Regions from separate parts of the Homo sapiens genome. Here all the other regions are linked to region 4. Evidence: promoter capture Hi-C in 16 types of primary human blood cells and fetal thymus (Javierre and others, 2016). All regions are on one chromosome and are shown on one strand. The core of a region is centred on a gene start or on the middle of the fragment in contact, and the rest is flanking DNA. Distances in the headings are between cores, read along the strand shown. Region 1 overlaps BLOC1S1 (biogenesis of lysosomal organelles complex 1 subunit 1). Region 2 has its middle 6.5 kb from the start of TMT1B. Region 3 holds the start of CBX5 (chromobox 5). Region 4 holds the start of TESPA1 (thymocyte expressed, positive selection associated 1). Region 5 has its middle 7.4 kb from the start of OR10P1.

The links. The method cuts DNA at HindIII sites, captures the fragments that hold promoters and counts their contacts. A CHiCAGO score of 5 or more calls a contact.
Region 1: a fragment that was not itself captured here is called in contact with the fragment with the promoter of TESPA1 in region 4 in 1 of 17 cell types (erythroblasts); the score reaches 5.0 in erythroblasts.
Region 2: a fragment that was not itself captured here is called in contact with the fragment with the promoter of TESPA1 in region 4 in 1 of 17 cell types (total B cells); the score reaches 5.6 in total B cells.
Region 3: a contact is called between the fragment with the promoter of CBX5 here and the fragment with the promoter of TESPA1 in region 4, in 1 of 17 cell types (fetal thymus). The highest score is 5.7, in fetal thymus.
Region 5: a fragment that was not itself captured here is called in contact with the fragment with the promoter of TESPA1 in region 4 in 2 of 17 cell types (total B cells and naive B cells); the score reaches 6.6 in total B cells.

The regions. Positions count from the first base shown.
Region 1 is chr12:55,717,005-55,719,787 of GRCh38, reverse strand. It overlaps BLOC1S1 (biogenesis of lysosomal organelles complex 1 subunit 1), which reads right to left. Exons shown (of 4, transcript NM_001487.4): 2 at 2,783; 3 at 565-697; 4 at 85-289. The coding sequence ends at 179. BLOC1S1-RDH5 (BLOC1S1-RDH5 readthrough) reads right to left here. Exons shown (of 6, transcript NR_037658.1): 2 at 2,783; 3 at 565-697. Among named protein-coding and RNA genes, the nearest start is that of RDH5, 2.0 kb to the left of the region's middle. RefSeq lists enhancers at 1,528-1,687, 1,798-1,847, 1,948-2,107. The HindIII fragment of the contact is 2,957 bases long and covers 1-2,783 here.
Region 2 is chr12:55,673,887-55,676,586 of GRCh38, reverse strand. No RefSeq gene overlaps it. Among named protein-coding and RNA genes, the nearest start is that of TMT1B, 6.5 kb to the left of the region's middle. The HindIII fragment of the contact is 3,457 bases long and covers 1-2,700 here.
Region 3 is chr12:54,278,725-54,281,424 of GRCh38, reverse strand. CBX5 (chromobox 5) reads left to right here and starts at 1,303. Exons shown (of 5, transcript NM_012117.3): 1 at 1,303-1,417. It overlaps HNRNPA1 (heterogeneous nuclear ribonucleoprotein A1), which reads right to left and starts at 699. Exons shown (of 11, transcript NM_031157.4): 1 at 603-699; 2 at 1-39. The coding sequence starts at 617. SCAT2 (S-phase cancer associated transcript 2) reads right to left here. Exons shown (of 2, transcript NR_157844.1): 2 at 2,362-2,700. RefSeq lists enhancers at 1-178, 921-980, 991-1,080, 1,371-1,420, 939-1,698 and 1 more and a cis regulatory region at 1-1,904. The HindIII fragment of the contact is 6,592 bases long and covers 1-2,700 here.
Region 4 is chr12:54,983,339-54,986,038 of GRCh38, reverse strand. It overlaps TESPA1 (thymocyte expressed, positive selection associated 1), which reads left to right and starts at 1,277. Exons shown (of 11, transcript NM_001136030.3): 1 at 1,277-1,454. LOC107984515 (a long non-coding RNA gene) reads right to left here and starts at 1,188. Exons shown (of 2, transcript XR_001749161.2): 1 at 1,074-1,188. The HindIII fragment of the contact is 6,023 bases long and covers 836-2,700 here.
Region 5 is chr12:55,642,943-55,645,642 of GRCh38, reverse strand. No RefSeq gene overlaps it. Among named protein-coding and RNA genes, the nearest start is that of OR10P1, 7.4 kb to the right of the region's middle. The HindIII fragment of the contact is 3,323 bases long and covers 1-2,700 here.

The sequences.
Region 1 (2,783 bases), core at 82-2,581, 730 kb before region 4:
TGTCCCTCAGGGAAACCACCTTTGAACCTTCCACTCCCACCCCCGACACTGGAGCTAGTAGCTCTCTGAAACACACCACAGAGAAACGGAGGCTTGTGTTTTATTCAAGGCTTGTCAGCCTCCCTCCTTCCCCCTGCGGGTGAGGTAGGAGGGATAGGGTTGGGGGAGGGAACAGGGGCTAGGAAGGGGCAGACTGCAGCTGCCCTTTGTAGACATATTCCAGTGCAGTGGCAATGGTGCGCATGTCCAGCTCGATGCTCCGAGCCCAGTTCTCCACATCCCCAATTTCCTGGGAAGGGGGAGAGGAGGTGGGAGCCCAGGAATCAGAATGGGTAGAGTATGGCTTCCAGTCTGGGGAATACGTTTTATTCATCTCCTGGAAAAGGCTTTACTTGGACCCACCAACTGCTTTTCTTTCTTTCTCTACCTTTTCTGACACTGGGGCTATAGATGGGGTTTCTGGGACCACCCTACTTCCTCCTTAACCTAAACCTGAGGTAACCTGACTGGAGGCAGCCAATGGGGGCCCAGGATTGGGGTGGTGAGGTAGGGAGTATGGCCCACCTTGAGTGCCTGGTTGAAGTTCTCCACCATTCCGATCCACTGGCCTGTCTGCTTGGCAAATTGGGCAGCCTGGACCTGTAGGGTCTTCACCTCATGGTCCAGCTTTCTCTGGTTCATGTAGGCCTGGGCCACACTGGGGGGTTGGAGGAGGGAGGAGATCAGCTCCAGCTAGTTGGGGGTGGTCTCCGGGACTAATATTCCATTGCAGCAGTGGGAGTTCAGCCAAGAATCAGGGCTCATAATTTTGGCCATTTTTGGATGTGATGCAAATGACTACCAGTACATGCAAATAAACCCAGCTCCTTCCTTTCACTCCCAGGATTCCCAGGAGAGCCAAGCTCGGAGCTGACTAGAAACATACCAGCTCCAAACCCCAAAAAGGAGTTCCTGCAGCTGAGTGGGGGAAGGGAGGGAAAACCTGGGGTGATATCCCTGAGGAAAAAGCTGGGAGGGAAAAAGGGGCATGGAAAAACTGGGAAAATCCAGCAGGAGGAACACATCTGGCAGTGATTGGAAGCCTAGGGATCTATGCAAGAAGTTGGAGAGGGAAATTGGGCCCCTCCCTGAAGCCGGGTTAGGATGGGAGTACAAACCCCCTCCCCAGGAACCCTGGGTCAAAAGAGGGTATCCCAGGGGTTTCTTCTCGGCTCTCAGTTGCTCTCCCAAGCCTTCGCTTTTGCCCACACAGATCAAGGAACACACACAAACACACACACACACACACACACACATGCTCTCCCTCCCTTCTGCCTTAGGCACTAGTTTTTCTTTTCAATCAAGGTATGGGCTGTGGTTACCATTACTACCATGGGGTTGGTGTCCCCAACCTTCTGCCAGTGTTTTTTGCCCTCCCCAACCCCTGCAATAATTGTTCTCCTTTATTGGCTGTTGAATTTTTCACTTCCCACCCCAGAGCTCTACTCAGCCAGGAGATTCCACATCCGGTGCCCCCACCCACTGGAATGTGTGGGGGCTGGAGCGGGGAAGGGGTTGGTGGGGGCTGAGGGAGTGGGCAGGACACCTGACAGGGGCCAAGATAGACTGAGCCTTTGTTTTCCTTTCCGGGGAATGAGAGGAGGCGTGGGCAGCAACACAAAACCCTTTCTAATCTGGCTTTGGCTTAGCTGCCCTCTAAGCTGAAAGTGGGGTGGCATCTAGCAAAGGAAAAGAAGAGGGAAAGGCCTGGGCCAATCTCACAAATGATGGGCACAGCAGAGCCCAGGAGGTGCCAATGTGGGAGGGAGGAAATGGGAGGGCAGACCCTGTTCCTTCTTTTTGGGAGACAGCTGGGTCACTGTCAAGGGTCGGGTAGGAACTGAAACAGACTCCCCTGAGAATTCCTGAACTTCTGGTTTTCCCCATTGACCACCTGCTTCTATATTCACACTGAGTAAAGAGAGCTGCCTGGAGAGAAGGGAGATCAGAGGCCCCAGCCACAACTTTCTTTCTCTCAACCTTCCCCCAAGATGAGTAACAAAGATGACCCCAGCCCCTGCATGGCTCACTTGGATGACTCAGTCTCTGGATTCACACCGAGCTGTTCTACTTGACCTGGGGTGGAAGGTACCATACTGCCTTTCTTCCAATAGGCAGACTAGCAAATCATCATCTCTGCACGCTTCTGGGTCACTTAGGGTCAAGAGACAATGTTCTTTGCTTTTTCCCAAGTCTTTGGCTGTTACTTGCATTCTCATTTAGGGCTGGGGCAGGGTGTGGTCCCTAGAGACCCAATAGGAAGGTAAGAGACAGCCTGGCTCTGCCATAGCTCCCGGAACAGGTTCTACTCTCACCACCACCAGCTCTGCCATCTCTTTCCTGCCAGCTGCTCCCCAGGCTTGCCAGAGGGTGGGAGGCAGAGGAGAGGGTGGTAAGCTGTAATGAAGGAGGGTGCTCTCCCTCCTGCTGAAGTGACAGCTGGACTTGGAAGGGTGAAGGGAGGTGGGCAGATGGCATCAAGTTGTAAATGCCAGGGAAGTTAACGTGGGGAAGGGGAAATCTGGCTGCTTCTCTAACCACGGCAGCTGTTCCTCCCTTGCCCAGTGCTAGGACTCAGAGTTGACTCAAGTTGCTCTACAAAGAGCTGGGAGGGGCGGGGTAGGATAGGGGAATTAGTGGAACATCCCACCCCTTCAACAGCTATTTGAGGGCCAGACTGGCCAGTGCCTAAACTTGGGCGGGGTGGGGAAGGAGGAAACTGATGTTGATAAGAGGTCCATACC
Region 2 (2,700 bases), core at 119-2,618, 690 kb before region 4:
TGCTTCCAAAGTTTACACATGTTGTAGCATGTATCAATACTTCATTCCTTTTACGTCCAAGTAGCATTGCATTGTACAGATATGCCACATTTTGTTTATTTATTCAACAGTTGATAGACATTTGGGTTGTTTCCACTTTTGGGGTACTATAAACAATGCTGCTATGAATTCTTGTCTTCATTTTATCTTTCTTTCTCCTAAATCATTAATCTCTGCCTTTCCATGGATCTTTCAAAATATGAATATGCTCTAATATATTTCAGGTTAATAATAAACTGACCCTCTTGACACCACATGTCACTTTAGCTAAAACTCCATTTTACAAATCTATGTCAAAGTCTTTTTTTTTTGGCAGGATCTTGCTCTGTTGCCTAGGCTGGAGTGCACCATTCTGACTCACTGCAGCCTCAAACTCCTGGGGTTGTGCTGCCCTTCCTGCTTCAGCCTCTTGAGTAGCTAGGACTATAGGTGCATACCACCATGCCTACTAACTTTTAAAAATTTTTGTAGAGACAGGGTATCTCTCAGGGTTGCCCAGGCTGATCTTGAACTCCTGGCCTCAAGCCATCCTCCTGTCTTGGTCTCCCAAAGTGCTGGGATTACAGGCGTGAGCTACTGTGCCAAGCCCAAGAAATTTTTATTAGTGATGGATTGGAGTGGGAGAAAGAGTGAATGGAAGGTGAGGAAACCAAGATAACACGAGCAGATGACTCAAGAATTATGACTTTGGGCGGGCGTGGTGGCTCGTGCCTGTAATCCAAGTACTTTGGGAGGCCGAGAGGAAATGACTGCTTGAGCCCAGGAGTTTGAGACCAGCTTGGGCAACATAGGCTGTTGTTTTTCTCTACAAAAAATAAAAAAATTAGCCAATTAGCCGGGTGTGGTGGCATGCGCCTGTAGCCCCAGCTACTTAGGAGGCAGAGGCAAGGGGATTGCTTGAGCCTGCAAGTTCAGGGTTACAGTGAACCATGACTGGGTCAGTGTACTCCAGCCTGGGAGACAGAGAGAGACCCTGTCTCTAAAAACAAAACAAAACAAAACAAAGAAACCCGAAACTATTATTATCAAGCCTATTAATTATTTCCACATGCCAGGTCCAGTGAATATTCCCTGTTCTCATCTTATCTGACTTTTCAACAGCTTCAGAAATAGTTGGCTACTATTTCTTCTTGAAAAATTCTCTCATCTAGGCTGTCCTAACATAACAGTCTTCTTGTTTCTATAACATTCCCGTGGCTGTTACTTCTTAGAAACTTCTTTTTTTAGATCTTTCTCATCTACTCGACCTTTAAATTTTGTTTCTTTGGGTTTAGTCTTGGGTCTTTCTCTGTCTAAATTCTCTCATTAAATAACCTCATCTTTTTTTTTTTAATATAGACTTTATTTTTTAGAGCAGTTTTAGCTTCATAGAAAAGTTGAGGAAAGTACAGAGATTTTCCACATACCCTTTGTCCTCACACATGACTAGCCTTCCTCATTATCAGTATCCCCCACCAGAGTGGACATTTATTACAATTGATGAACCTACATTGACACATAATTTTCACCAAATCCCATCCATTTTCATGGTTTAAAATGCCATGTATATGCAAATTATTCACACATTTATATCTTTAGTGCAGATCCTTCCTTTGAGTTTCAAATTTGTATACCCAGTTGTGTACTTGATCCTCCTCCTCAGCATATCTTCTGGACATATAAAACTTAACATGTCCAAAATGACACTTACGGTACTCCCCAAGTCTCTTGTCTTACTCTGCCCATCTTCTTCATCATCTCAGTGAATGGCACCATTAGCTTCTTGATTGCTCAACCAAAAACCTAGGATTTATTCTATTTCTTCTCTGTCTCCTCCTTTTCTTTTCTCATTTCTAACTTTGTATAATGGAGAATTTTGAATATACACAAAAGTTGGCAGAACAGTATAAGATACCCCCATGTATACATCATTCATCCCAACAACTATCAACCCACAGCCAATCCTTCCCCATCCACATCCTTTTCTACTTTCTGCTTCCTTCTCCTGTGTGTCATTTTGAAGCAAATCCCAAACATCATGTCATTTCATCTCCATCTGTATCTCTCTATAACATATATATGACTTTCTTTTCTTTTCTTTTTTTTTGAGGCAGAGTCCCGCTCTTTTGCTAGGCTGGAGTGCAGTGGGGCGATCTCGGCTCACTGCAACCTCCGCCTCCTGGGTTCAAGCAATTCTCCTGCCTCAGCCTCCTGAGTAGCTGGGACTACAGGCACGCACCACCACACCCAGCTAATTTTTGTATTTTTAGTAGAGACAGGGTTTCACCATGTTGACCAGGATGGTCTCGATCTCTTGACCTCGTGATCTGCCTGCCTTGGCCTCCAAAAGTGCTGGGATTACAGGTGTGAGCCACCGCGCCCGGCCAATATATATATAACTTTCAAGTTACTCACAAGTCCTGTCAGCTCTATTTCCCAGTTCATTAATTTCATGCATTTCTTTCATCTCCACTGGCATAACCCTAGACCAGATCATGACCCTCCGCTGCCTGGCCCACTGCAAGGGCCTCATTAACTGTCTCTCCACTTTCACCCACTGCTTAAAACCTTTTAGTGGATTCCCATTATCTTTGGTACAAAATCTGAACTCCTTACTGTAGCCCATAAGGCCCTGTGTGATCTGGCCCCTGTCCACCTCTCATGCTACCCTCCCTTAACCCT
Region 3 (2,700 bases), core at 54-2,553, 700 kb after region 4:
AATGAAGAGCTTCCTCAGCTGTTCGGGCTCTTTAGGAGACTAGAGTGGGGGGAGGGGGAAGTGTTAAATGGGCTACAACACGAAACAATTTCCATCGAGGAAAAGAAAAACTAGACACCAACTGTGTACCTAGCACTTATTGTTCGTTCAGGTCGCAACAAGACACGTGCTTCTGCCTATCAAGGGAGGCCGTATGCTGGAGTTGGGAGTGCTAGGAAATCGCAAGCGCATGCGTCCCTAGTCGCCTTCCGACGCACGCGCAACAAAGGCTTGGGCGGTAGGGGTGCATCTCCACAATGGGACTAATCGCTCTTTAGAAAACTCGCTCACCAAGGCAAGGTTTAAAAAAAGACAAAGATCCTGTGTGCCTAAGAATTTTGCTACGAGTAACGAGTCCCGCATGATAACTCATGGTTGGCGGAGAGCGGCCTCATGGCGATCAAGAGGACAAAATGGCGACTTGAACTTTGGGAGGGGTAGGCCGTGGCAGCGACCGAAGGAACTGTAGAATGGGCTGGTGCAAGGAACGAAACCCAGCAGCATCTTACCGATTCAGGAAAGGGAGAGGAAAAAATTCAAGTGGGAAAGCGCGCCTAACTCACCTCTGACTTAGACATGACGGCAGGGTGAAGAGAGACTTTAACGATGCTTCTTCGGCGGCGTCCACGGGCAGAAAGGAGCAAGCTGACGAACGTATCTGCCAGCCTACCTTCGCCCTCTCTTTTTTACCCCGCCTCCTCGCTTTCGGCATTGGTAGACTCCGCCCTGGAACAGCTCTGATTGGATACTTGAAATCGCTTCCCCCTGCTATTGGCCTGTGGTGCCACATTGCTGTGTAACGTCATTCCTTCGGTCGTTCTACGCCGTCTCCACCCCTTGGAGTCCATTGGTTCCCGAGTAATGTTATTGTTAACCAGTCTGATTGGCCAACCGACCAATCATTCACATTTGAATCTACCTTGGGTGTTTAACATCTTTTTAATCTTCCACGCGCAAATATTACAGTCAAGTCGCTTGGCAAAGCATGATTAACACTATGTATTAGACAAGCAGCCAGGAGGTAACAATTTTTTTGCAATGAACTCTTGTTGACCGCACGTGTAGTAAAATGGCGAGTTTTGCGCAGGCGCATTAAGAAGTTCCACCTGCCTCTGAGAACACGTGAAATGGCGGGCAGGAGTAGGCAGTGAACCTACGGCGCCTGCGTGTTGGCGGGAGTTTGTCCTAGCTTTGCGCATGCGTAGTGGGCGGAGAAAAAAGGTCCGGTCCCAGGATTGGTTGCGCAGGCGCAGGGAAGGATCCGTTTTGGCGGGCGGTTGGCGTTGCGCAGAAGGCGGCGGCGGTGGTGGCTTGTGGTGCGGCCTCACCATACAGGAACAGGGCAGACGTTAGCGTGAGTGATCACTCTCAATCCCGGGTAAGTGGCAGACAGTCTTATCTACCCATAGTAGGTCTTGAACTGACTCCATTTGGGCCCGTTATTGTGTGAAATGAATGGACGGCGGGGTGGGGGGATAGTGAAGGGGCAGCGGTGGGTCGGGCCAACCAATAGAAGAACAGGGGGCGGGATGTTTTAATCCCCGTAGGTTCTTTGGAGCTGTGCAGCCGAAGACTTTGACTGGCTTGTGTATAGGCCAATTGGGTCTGCCTTGAGCTGCCGACTGATCGGCCCTTGGGCCATCGGAATGTGGGAGACGGGTTTTCCCCTTCTGAGCAGCGTCTCACTGAGCCAGTGAGCAGGAAGCGCGCGGTAGGTTGGGCTTCTCCAGGAGGCAGCGGTTTGACTCCAATGGGGAATGCGGGATCGGGCGGTTAAACGGATGGAACGAATCTGGAACCAGTAGACGGACAGCCTAAGGAAAGCGCTGGGACCAGTCGTCCAATCGGCTCTCCAAAAGAGGGAGGTCTTCGATTTGGGGTTGTGAGGAAGGGGAGTCGGTGCCTGTAATGGCGTGTGAGGGTGGATGTTTTATCCACGATGACTTCTCTAACGAAGCCTTTAGGCCTCAGTCCCATACACCTCCTTGAAAGCGTAAGTTTGCTCCTGTATTCCTCGACTTGAGCATTTTTCCCCCGCCCCCTCACCACTTGAGGTTTGGGGAACAGGAGTTGTTTTTTTTTGTTTGTTTGTTTTTAAATAATACTTTCAGAAGTCGCTTCTTTAGGAAGACTGTTAAAATGTTAGAACGAATGGGAGAAATCTCTATGTACTGTCATGGAAAGGCGTTCAAGAAATATCTCCTTCCTGATAGTGCATATTTCTACTGACAAATATGTTTGTAGGTCCACAGAAAAGTTTTGGAAAGCTACACACCAAAGTGTCAATCCTAGGGACACAGTAGGATCGAGGCAGATTAGATCTTTAATGTTTAAAACTTTGCAAGGTTAATAATTTGTGATTAAAATTAAATAAAAAATGAAGTCGATTGTTTTGTGTTTCTAGTCATAATCACATACTTACAACCCCTTTTCTGTTTTATGTAATCCATGTGCCCAGTGCTTTTATTTTAGTCTCTTTCTCCCGGGAACTTTCATATATTTCTTTTCTTTACACCATTGAAGATATCCTAAAGTCCCTCTTTTTGCTGTTCCTTTGAGGATATCTGACTTTGGAATAAAAAAGAAACAAAGAGGGTAATATTTAGGGTTCTGGGGACAGAAGATTCATCCATCACCTGGATTATTCCTTGCCTTTTAATT
Region 4 (2,700 bases), core at 28-2,527:
GGGCGTGTTGGATTTAGCATTTTACTTGTTGACTGTGAAGCTAATTCTCAGAGAAGCACATATTTAGCATCTACTATGTCCTGAGAAAATATGTTAGATATTTTCATGCCTACGTAAAAGGAATAGCGTGGGAGAAGGGTTGAGTGAGAAACAGAGAGAATTGTTATTTTCCTCACATTATACTTGAAGAAAATAATGTTTTGAGAACTTAATTTGCCAAGCAAGAATTTTATTTAGGATTATTTCTACCATATTATAGCTATACTATGGATACTCAATGGAGTTGTCCCATTGATGATTGGAAATGGAATTTAGAAACATGGTAAAAAAAAAATCTAACTATACCTATAGCCAAAAAATCAGAAAGAAGGTAATGAACATGTGAAAATCAGTCACAATTAACACATTAGAGGAGTGCCTTGTAGAATAAATATTGTGATATACATTCATAAATAAATGATTTAAAGAAGGAAACAGTAGAATCAGGAGAGAGACAGAAAGAAGATATCCAAAATGCAGCAGCATCCTACGGAGAAGAGTGTTCAGAGATACTGGAGAAGCGAGGAGGGATAGTTAGCAGTGCTGGATGCTCCCGGTGGGTGAAAGTGATTGAGGCCTGGGAGAAACCTTTTAGAGTTCAACAAGCCTTTTCCAAACTGAAAACCAATAAACTGAAGACATCTTCAGGGTGTAACCGATTTTAAAAGTTCAGCTTTGAAAACGTTGGGGAAAGCAGTCATTTACTACAAAAACAAAAACTTTGAAGTGGTTTGAACATAAAACAAAGTTAAGAAACTAACAGAAAAAAAAAGTAGTCAGTATTCAAAAACAAGCTTCGGGGGAATTTACCAGAGTATGAAAGTTATCAACACAGAGCGACTGGCTCAGAGCCCTCTCAAGTGTGTGATACGACTGGAAACTTCTTCTCTGAGATAAACGCCAGATCATTTATGAGAGAGAGCTTTCCCATTTTCAGACAGCTCTCCTGAGGACAGAAGGATTTATCTGCAGCAGTGGAATTCTAGTTATATGGTAGGAAGACTCCTGCACACACCTCTTTAAATGGACTGTACCTTTGCCTTAATAGGAAAAGATCTCCTGTTTTTCTGGAAAGACAGAGGCAGCTCTGGGGCAGGAAGGTCTTCCTAGTTGTGAGCACCGTGTCTACGGATGGTTTGTCCTTCGCTCAGTCTCCTGAGCCGGAGCAAAGGATGTGGCTGGGCCAGGAGGCGGGGACTGCATCTACATGTGTGGATGTGTGTGTGTGTGGTGTGTTCTCATTTCCGCTTCCCCTTTTGAGCAGGCAACAGCAGTTGAATGAGTTCAGGGAGAAAGGCATAATCTACAACATGATACTTTCTCACTTGCTTCACCTCTGTGCCCACACCTGTGAAGGCCTCGGCCCAGCTTCGACAACTGCTTTGCCTCAAACTCAGCTTTCTACCAGCAGACAGGTAAGCACAGCCTTTATCTCAGTTTCAAGGCTGTACTGATTTAGGGTGATGCTAGGAGAAAGAAGGAAACATGTCAGAGAAAAATCAGGCTGTCAAGTCAAGGGAAAATCAAGAGAAAATCTCCCACCACTCTTACTTCAACCTTAAAAGCATCCATCATTATGCCTAGGAGAACGATGCTGGGTGCCCTTTTGCTTTCGTTTGTTTGTTTTCTCTTTATTATCAGAGAGGTAATCTTTCTAGATTCTCAAAACTTGGGTCTCTTTGATGACTTGAATAACATTTTAGGAATTTTTTTTCACCTTTCTCACCTGCAAAGTTCTTCTCTGTGTCTTGCTGAACTCATTGTTGCTGCAATTTCCATCTGATTATAACATCGAAAAGTTCTCAAGGAAGAAGTTTCCCGGTTTCATTTCAGGCCCTACTCTAGTGTCCATAGCTCCAACCATTGAGAGTACCTGGCTGAAATCAACTTTGCTTTCTGTGGGTATGACCTCTTTCTTCAGAAGCTGTAGAAGAAACTTGTTGAGATAAACTGCAGCAAGATATATTGAGGTCAGCTACGAGGGAGGATGTACACACTTGAGTGAGGTAAGGTCAAATTCACCGGGAGGCTCAAGATAGATGGATAGCCACCATCAGGACCAGATTTCAGGGTTCACATCTCAAAGATAGATAGATGGATGTGTTGCCTTCTCAGTGACCTACATAATATTGGGGGCTTCATGCTCCTCCAACACCCCTTGCCCCAGTGGTAGCAGGCAGAGCATATCACCACCTACATGAGTTTTGGGGTAGATGGAGGAGTGGAAAGATCCTCCACCCTGGGGTTTTCCCATGCCCCTTCTGTGCCACTAAGCTCACCAGTGGGTGGAAGAAAAAGGGTGGGTCCCCAGGGCAGGGCAAGGACAAGAAAGGAGAGTTCCACAGAAGTGATTTGACAAGACTGTGAGCATTTACAGGAGATATCCAGGGAAGTACTAGTGACTCTGTATACCACAAATGGTCCTGAGTAGAGAGGTAAGGAGACTTTCTAGATGGTGCAGGGCAGTACCTAGGATGGGAGGTTGGAGGTAGGAACCTTCAACTTGTGTGTCCAAGTATCAGACTCAATAGTTGTTCAGCTGAGTGATTAGAGATAAAGATCTCACAATATTGTCTTGCAGCATGAAGTGTTAGTAGGAAGAAGGGAAGTCAGGTTTATTGTCTGTCTCTACTTGGACTATTATCAGAAATAACAAGCTGA
Region 5 (2,700 bases), core at 171-2,670, 660 kb before region 4:
TTAATATTCTTATGATGCAGAAAGGATCCAATGAAGACACAAACTCACTTTTCCTCAGTTTACCAAGGACTGGGTGGGACATATTTGGACTGGAAGTACACTATGAATACCAGGGAGCAAAAAGCCCATGTCTGTCCTTGGGAGTAGGGGACATCAAAGAAGAGAATAGATTTCTTTCTTTTAGTGGAAAGTCTAGGAGTAGAGGATAAGGAGCTGGCTAAGGAAGGCTGACCAGAAGGCTGGGTTGTAGATAGCACTATGACAGGGTGGTTTGGAGCTTGCCTCTGGTGGTTGGCAAGTCCAAGATCAAATCCTGATCATCACTTACCATCTGAAATAGTGGGAGTTTTCTTTACATCTTTGTGCCTTAAATTCTGCATCTGTAAAGTCATGACAATAATCGTTTCTATGTATCACAGGGTTGCTGTGAGGATTAAACACAGCCTTCCTCAGCCATTCTATACCACATCATCACTTGACATATAAATTAACTTGTTTGTTTGTGGCTTCTCTCCTTTCATTAAAATGAGATGTACCATAAAGGGGGAAGGGAAGAAACTGCCTGTCTTGTTTACCAGTGTATCCCTAGTGCCTGGCACATAGTAGGTATTCAGGAAATATTTGCTGAATCGATAAGTAAATGAATATATGAAAGCTGCTTAGCACAGTGCATGTAGGTAATAGTGTTCACTAATCTATTTCGATTATACTATAATTGCTACTACTATCATTTGCCTTCTTATGAACTTTGATGATGACTTTCAGAGCAGTTTTTAGATGTCTTAAAAGTTTGAGACTTTGTTAAAAAAATCCCCCTAAAGTTGCTGGAAAGTTTAAAATGTGTTAATGCTGAAGAGAGGAAGGGGAGAAGTGTGTGTGGGATTTGGGGAAGAGAGTTTTTGGAAAAGAGGAAATCCTGGTGTGAGCTATGAGGGGGATAACTCAGAAAGGATCAGATGGGCCATAGGGGCCATGAAAGAGGAGGAAAGAAGCAGGTGAACAATTCTGGGTTAGAGAAAACCTGACTCTGGTAGCTCAAGGAGTTGAGAGGAATCTTGGAAAACCAGGCTTAGGCAATGATCAGGTACCAAAAGAAGCTGAGAGGCCAGAACCACAGGCCAGGTCATAGCACAGGGGTGGTTGGCTAGGATGCTGCAGGCACTGCTGGCACTGTTGCCCGTGACTCCTCTGGCACCGTGCAGGTGCTGAGGCTGCTGCTGGTGGGCCTGGATGCCACTGTGGTCATCACCAAAATGAATTGTAAACTTTACTTCTTTGAATCACTTGCACCTGATTCAAAGTCTTAGGCAGTTGCATCTGCTAGGACTAGCTAAGATCACAGGGCTGTGTCTCGGCTGTCAGAGTTTAGAGAATCCACAAATTTGGGCCTAATGGCTTCTGTAGAAGTGGATAGAGCTTTGTCCCCCACAAGCTCTATCCACTTAGAGCTTGGGGGGAAGACCCTGTTAAGTTCATGGATGGCCTCCTTTCCTGCCATTATGACCCTTCTATTTGTAGGCCTATTAAGAATGAACTGGGGCCAAGCTCAGTGGTCCACACCTGTAATCCTAGCAATTTTGGAAGGCCAAGGTGGGAGGATCACTTGAGGCTAGGAGTGCAAGACCAGCCTGAGTAACATAGCGAGCCCTCATCTTTACAAAAGTAAAAATAAAAAATTAGTTGGAGGTCATGGCATGTGCCTGTGGTCCTAGCTATTTGGGTGGCTGAGGCGGGAGGATCACTTGAGCCTAGGAGTTCGAAGCTGCAATGAGCCTTGATTTTACCACTGCACTCCAGCCTGGGCGACAGAGCAAGCTCCTGCTCCCACATCCCCATACCCCCCAAAAAGATTGATTTGCTGGAGAATGAGGTATATGCAACCTCCTTTTGTTTTCAGGCTGTGCTTGGGCCCCATCTGATTTTACCAATTTCACTTGTCTATTAAGTGCTATTGGGGATACTTAACTTTAGGGTGAGTGGGTCAAATTACACCCAATTCATGGTGTGCAATACTGTTCCATAGTCACCTGGTGTCCAGTGGTCAGCTGTTCAGTGTATACTGTTGCCTACAAGCAGCCCAAGAGCAGTTTCACAAAAGGATCTTGATTGTTTGCCCCAAAGGGCAAGGTTTGGCTCCCAAATCTGTGATTCACCTCTTGGATTTACCGCAGGCTCCAGTGCCACTGACACTGAGCCTCTTACAGTCTGCTGGGCAGTTGGGAGGCCCAGTGGCGGAACTGCAGCGTGGGCCACTGGGAGAGCATTTGCTTCCTCTGGCTTTTAGGACATCCGATAAGTGGGTTGAAGCAGCCAACCCAAAAGGACTATATGTCGCTTCCCAAATCCAGATAACTACAAGAGGTCTTTTCTTACTGTAGGGAGCAAAAGGTGAGGCAACTTGTCCGTAACATTTGAGGAGATACCCTGATATCCCCAGAAAACCTTCACAGAGAGGCCAGGCCCCTAAATTTATCTCCTAGTTATAAATGTACATCAAGGGTACCTGCCATTTTCCTCTCTCCAGATGCTGTCAGTGTAGTTTCATCAATAGAATGGACCAGTGTGGTGCTCTACGGGGTGGTGACCTGATGAAGGTGCCTGTGGATTTGGTGGCGCAGAGCGAGAAAGCCGATGTAACCCTGAGGCAGGATAAGAAGGGTGACCTTGTGCCCTGCCAGGCAACAGCAAGTGGCTTCTGGA